2 separate regions of the Homo sapiens genome follow, and region 2 is linked to region 1. Evidence: promoter capture Hi-C in 16 types of primary human blood cells and fetal thymus (Javierre and others, 2016). All regions are on one chromosome and are shown on one strand. The core of a region is centred on a gene start or on the middle of the fragment in contact, and the rest is flanking DNA. Distances in the headings are between cores, read along the strand shown.

Region 1 (3,325 bases), core at 57-2,556:
GCCCCACCTCCCATCAGAGGGGTAGGTCTTAACATTATCTCATTTGCTACAAAGTAGTATTCAGTGGGCTTTTAAAATTTTATGAAGAGCGTTGAAATGCACTATCGAAAAATTTAAAGCTCTATGTATTCAGAAATTGACAGTACTTTAAACAAAACCGAAAAAAAACCTAGATATCCCTTCATCTTCCTTAAAGATGACCTCTCCGCGCTCTCTCCAACAATTTTCCCCATCAACGTTGCCAAGACACTTATCCATTGTATGAAGGACCTAGTTTTACGTTTACTGGTTACCTACCGTTTCCATGACACTGGGCTAGGAGCTAGGACAAATATACAAAAAGGCCTAAAATAAGCATCATATTTCTCTCCGAATTCCCAACACCCGGCAGTGCAGTAAATATTTAACGGGTTACTTTAAGGGATAAACCGTTTGCTATTAAAACCTATGAGGTGAGGGCTGAGGAAGGGAACGGCATTTGATGGGGAGACGAGGTAAGAAGAACGAGGTATTAATATCCGACATCAAAATGGGCTTCTAGGTCTCAACGTCTTAGACCTCACCACCAGAGCCAGTACCAAATTACACCCGTGGCACAATTTTCGGCTCAATACTGTTCTCGGTTTACCCTTACTAGTGCAGCTAAAGTTAACTCTCAACAGCACATTGTAAAAATCATCCAGGCAGGAAAAATCTGTACAAACGTGCACGAACATTTCGACATTGTCACGGGAACATTTAGAACCCAAAACAGGGAGAGTCTTGCCGTCTCTATACTGAGTACAAAGGCCCGAGAAAGCACTCTCATCGGCCCCCCAAAACGCACGTACGAAATCCCTTGACTAAGCTCTTTCACTCCTCGACCCTCTCAGAATTTCCTTCCTCAATCCCCCTTCCTACGCAGGTCTCCGGCTCTCAGCGTGTGGGCCTCTTCAAACCTTCTGACCCTCATAAAGATTAAGGGAGGCATTTCCCACTCATTCTTCTGGTTTCTTCCCTGGGCTCTCCCGCTGCAGGCCACCTCAGGCGCGTCCTCCTCCAACCACCCTTCCCGGCCTACTCCAGGCTTTAGTAGGCCTCAACCCTCAGCCACTCCGCCATTATTATTTACATCGTCGTCTGGGGAGGCTGAACGCTTCACCCCATGCGGGTGAGACTCTCTGGCAGCACTCATCCTTGCGGGGATCCCGACGAAAAATGCCGAACCCTCTCGCCGCTCTTCCCAGCCGCAAAACCAGCAGCTTACAATCCGCCAAGGGCCCAAGCAGCGCCACTACAGAACGCAGAGCCCCTCCGGGCCTTCTCTGCCACAGTCGTCACCGTTGCGGCCCCTCGCCGCCCCGGGGCACTTTGGGAGTTGTAGTTTTCTGATTCATTGCATACTGGCCCGAATAAAAAAGATGTGTCCGTGACTAAAACTACAATTCCCAGGAAGCCCCGAGGCTCAATTCGCGCTGTGTGGCGGGAGTGCCCTCAGAGGCCCCGCCTTCGGCTGGTGGAGGAAGCGTTCCCGCGGATGTGTATGGCGGTGAGCGTTGGCCGAGAGCTTTGTCGCCACAGGAGGAGGCTTAGAGGGGTTTTTGCCTTTCACCGTGCAACGCTGCCCTACTGGCAAATGTATCATCGTAGCTAGGCACCTATGTTTAAATGTAATGTTTGAGGCTGACTGAATCCTCACGAATACCCTCCACCCAGGACAAAAACCTTAACCAAAAATGGCTTCTACCATTTCCACCCTGGTGTTCTCTATTGCGCGCAGGGGATTTCTAGGTGGTCGGTGATGCTGCTTTCTAAATGTTTTCATGAATATTTCGCTGTTTTCCCATACAGAAATGAGTTCAGTATGTTGTTAAATGTTGGCTAATTGGCGGTTGTTGAAAACGGGGATTTAGCTGAGGGAAATCTGTTAAGTTTTCATATGGCTTTGTGTGAGGTGGGAGTGCTCCTCACTGACCTCGCTGTGGATGTCTGGGCACCGTTACAGTAGGGGCCTTCACCAAGCAAAGTCCATCCCTGCCACAAAAGCCTCTATTTTTTTTCTTTTTTAAAAAAAGTAATTATTGAGGTTAAATTCACATATAAAATTAACCATTTTTTAAAAAGTGTACAATCCACTGTCACTTAGTACATTCACAATCGTGTGCAGCTGTCACCTCTGATTCCAAGAAGTTTCACCACTCCAAAAGGAACCCCAATGCCCGTTAGCAATCCCTCCCCATTTCTCGCCCTCTCTCCAGATTCAAGTGATCACTCCTCTACTCAAAAAGCCCTGCATTTAAAGCTATTTATTGTTCAGATACTGAAGACTATCTCCTACTTTATTAAGGTGTCTGAATTTGTAACCAGGTCTGAACTTAACTTTCTGTCAGAATCCTTGTCCTTAATAATTCTGAAGCTTTCTCACCTTGAATACAAATGTGATTTTTTTTTTTTTTAAGCAAAAATTAGGCCTGGCGCCATGGCTCAGGCCTGTAATCCCCAGCATTTTGGGAGGCTGAGGCGGGTGGATCACGAGGTCAGGAGTTCGAGACCAGCCTGATCAACATGGTGAAACCACGTCTCTACTAAAAATACAAAAATTAGCCTGGCATGATGGCACATGCCTCTAATCCCAGCTACTCGGGAGGCTGAGGCAGGAGAATCGCTTGAACCCGGGAGGCGGAGGTTTCAGCGACCCAAGATGGCGCCACTGCACTCCAGCCTGGGTGACAGAACGAGACTCGGTCTCTAAATAAATAAATAAATAAATAATAAGTGGTATGGATAATACATATCTGCTGTTTCAGAACTGAGAGCAGTCTGTGAAACAATGCTTAGCTATTAGCTTTTGAACTCAGCAATTGCTCTAGTTTCACTGCCTGTGTACAAATATTACTTACCTAGATTTCAGATCCTCACTGAACTGTGACCAGTGGAAGGTAGTTTTTAAATTTATGCAGTCATAGATTCAAATTCTCCCTTATTTTGGAAGCAGAAAAATAGCATAATAGTAAGTACTATAATAGAAAAAGAGATGTCAGGGTTACATTTTATAAGTATAACCAAACAAAGAACATCTTAATGGTTCTGTGGTAAGAATAAATCATAAAGGAGGAGGAGAGTAAACCCAAGAGAAAAAAAAGAAACATTGTTTTAGGAAGTGGTTGATTGCTTTTTGCTAGAATTAAAATATTTTCACTACTACATAATTCTACTTAGGTTCTATTAGTTACAATGAAATTACATTTAAGTTACAGAGTTTTGCAGTTTCGACTACAGTTCACCTCTAATGGGTTTGACAAATGGTGATTTAGAACTATTAGCTATATTACCAAAACAAATAAGA
Region 2 (3,284 bases), core at 28-2,527, 3.6 Mb before region 1:
ATATACACAGAACTCTGTAACCTTCATCACGATCTAAGTTTTAAAATATTTCATCACCCTGAAAAGAAATCCCATATCATTAGCAGTCACTCCTCGTACCCTACCCTCTGGGGACCTAGTCAACCACTAATGTACCTTCTATCTCTATAGATTTGCCTATTCTGGACATTTCATATAAATGAAATCATATAATTCGTGGTCTTTTGTGACTGTCTCCTCACACTTAGCATAATATTTTCAAGGTTCACCCATGTTGTAGTATGTATCATTTCTTTTTATAGCTGAATAATATTCTATTGCATGAATATATCACATTTTATTCATCTATTCATCAGTCGATGGCTATCTAGGTTGTTCCCACTCTTTGGCCATTATAAATAATGCTGCTATGAACAGTCATACACAAGATTTTATGTGTACACACATTTCTTAGCTTTTTTTTTTTTTTTTTTTTGAGATGGAGTCTCACTCTGTCGCCCAGGCTGGAGTGCAGTGGCGCAATCTCAGCTCACTGCAAGCTCCGCCTCCCGGGTTCATGCCGTTCTCCTGCCTCAGCCTCCCGAGCAGCTGGGACTACAGGCACCTGCCATCACGCCCGGCTAATTTTTTGTATTTTTAGTAGAGACGGGGTTTCACCGTGTTAGCCAGGATGGTCTCAATCTCCTGACCTCGTGATCCGCCCGCCTCGGCCTCCCAAAGCGCTGGGATTACAGGCGTGAGCCACCGCGCCCAGCCCATTTCTTAGCTTTTTAAAAGATTTGTTTTGTCTCTATTAGCAGTGTGCATAAAAGAGATACCATAGCAGGCTGAGACTGCTATCCTTAGAAAGGCCTGTTACAAGTTTGGCCCCTGGCTTGTGCTTGCAACCTTGGATTTTCGGTGTGTTCCCACCATTCCCTATCTGATAAGGGTCATGTACTATGCCTAAACTGTCTGTACAAACAATGTGGTTTATGCTGAAAACTTGCCTTTCTTCTGGAGGGCTGCAATTTGGCTAGGCCAATGTGCCTATGTAACTGGCTCCCATAAAAACCCTGCATTCCTAGGCTCAGATGAGTTTCTCTGGCAGAAAACGTTCATCGCTGGAGACATTAAGCACATCCTGTGCAAGCTCTATGGGGAGAGGCCTCTTGGAAGCTTGTACCTACTTTCCTCCAGACTTCACCCGACACACCTTTTCCCTTTGCTGATTTTGCTCTATATCCTTTCAATGCGATAAGTTGTAGCTGTGAGTATGACTATATGCTGAGTCCTATGAAACCTTCTAGTGAATTACCAAACTTGGGGGTGTCTTTGAGGATCCCTCAATACAAGCAGATTATAAACTCCTTGAGGTCAAGGATGATACCCAATAATAAAATGTCACATGTCTGGAAAGTATACCTTCACCCTGAATAGATGAGGAAACCAAAGCTTATAAACCCTGAGAACAGAGGACATGAGGCCCATCCAGTACTCTGGGCTCCACATCCTGACACGTCTCCCCACGGCACCAGCAGAATGCCCATAAAGCACATGATTGATCCAAGCCCCCAGAGCTGGCCCACCATGAATGAATGCAATTGAAACTTCATTGAGTAGAATAAATGTTCCTAAACAATAAAGGAGTTTCTAAAATTGGGTGGGGCGGGGGAGTTCATACACACATGGAGGCTGAGAAAATAGGCAATAAATACTAGGAATGTTACACACAGTAGTTGAAGGATTATTTTGGAAAGATAATCTTTCCAAATTGTAAAAGCAATTATATATTGTTCAGCGTCATTCTGGGTTGGATCATTTGGTTGTCATTTCTGTCCTTTATTAATCTAATTCATAATCCCAGGCTGCAGGTAATGCAGGCCAATTGCAGTGAAATCAGAAGTGTCTTTCCGTTGTATTGGCCTTAATATTTGCTGAGGCTCTGTCACGGTCCAATCTCTGCTGGGTCCCTTTTGCATGTATTAGTGACAAAGGCTATTCATTACTTAATAGCTAGTGGCATAGGCCTTGGAATCAGCCTGGGTTCAAGCTCTAGCTTTGCCGCTTAACAGCTGGTGTTTTTGTTGTTGTTGTTGTTGTTGTTGTTTGTTTTGTTTTGTTTTGTTTTTGAGACAGAGTCTCACTCTGTCCCCAAGCTGGAGTGCAGTGATGTGATCTTGGCTCACTGCAGCCTCTGCTTCCCGGGTTCATGCAATTCTCCTGCCTCAGCCTCCCGAGTAGCTGGGATTACAGGCATACACCACTGTGCCAGTTAATTTTTGTATTTTTAGTACAGACAGGGTTTTGCCACGTTTCCCAGGCTGGTTTCAAACTCCCAGCCTCAAGTGATCTTCCCACCTCGGCCTCCCAAAGTGCTAGAATTACAGGCGTGAGCCACCGTGCCCAGCCAACAGCTGGTGGTCTTAATATCACAGTACCTGTTTCCACGCAAATGCACATAAAAGCCCTCAGAATACTGCCTGGCTCATTTAGTGTTAGCTATTTTTTTAAAAATCTGGTTAAATCATTATTATAACCCAGTGAGTCAGTAGTAACGCCTTTATCTTTAACAATGAGGAAATATCTTATGTATATTTTCTTTCCTAAAAGGTATAAATGTTGATCTTGCTAATGAGAGCAAAAATCCTATTTGATAACCTTTCTCAGAACCCACATGTGTCAGTGTTTTAAAAAACAAGTTGGGCCTGATCCCTCATGCCTGTAGTCCCAGCTGCTCAGGAGGTTGAGGCTGGAGATTGTTTGAGCCCAGGAATCTGAGGTTGTAGTGAGCTGTGACCGCACCACTGCACTTCAACCTGGGTGACAGAGCAAGACTTTGACTCTAAAAAAAAAGGAAAACAGATTTTTTCCTTTTAAGAATTGTTCTAAACTCTGACAATTAAGTGGAAACTTTTCCATTCTTCATGTAATTTCATTGGTGGCTCACTGATCTTCATCTGGTTCAAAATACTATTTTAGGATAGGTGAGATATGGCTCAGCTATAAGCCATGTGAAAAAAATCTGGAAATTTTTAATATTACAGGCTGATCATGAGCCAACAACATAATAAGGATGTTTGGTAAAATAGTAACAATCTTATATCCTATTTTTTTAAAAAAACATAGTGTTCGGAGCATGAATAGTACTCCCAGTGCAGTTCCAGTATAATATCACTGCAAAGTTCACCCTTAGCAAAGTGATGCAGTCATGAAGGAGCTAGACACAGGAACCCATAAAGAATGGTGCAAGGATTTAAAGGTGTTATGCCTGGGAAACATACAATTAAGGGGGTCATAATCTCCAAATGTCTTAAAAACTACAA

Evidence for each region. Contacts are between HindIII fragments. The CHiCAGO score rates a contact against its expected background, and 5 or more counts as called.
Region 2: a fragment that was not itself captured here is called in contact with the fragment with the promoter of C11orf58 in region 1 in 4 of 17 cell types (total CD4 T cells, non-activated CD4 T cells, naive CD8 T cells and 1 more); the score reaches 10.6 in total CD4 T cells.

Annotation. Positions count from the first base shown.
Region 1 is chr11:16,736,628-16,739,952 of GRCh38, reverse strand. C11orf58 (chromosome 11 open reading frame 58) reads right to left here and starts at 1,306. Exons shown (of 5, transcript NM_014267.6): 1 at 1,112-1,306. The coding sequence starts at 1,174. It also overlaps a transcript of SOX6 not described here. RefSeq lists an enhancer at 803-1,432. The HindIII fragment of the contact is 4,072 bases long and covers 1-2,397 here.
Region 2 is chr11:20,377,842-20,381,125 of GRCh38, reverse strand. All of the region lies in intron 3 of HTATIP2 (HIV-1 Tat interactive protein 2), which reads right to left. Among named protein-coding and RNA genes, the nearest start is that of PRMT3, 8.2 kb to the left of the region's middle. The HindIII fragment of the contact is 276 bases long and covers 1,140-1,415 here.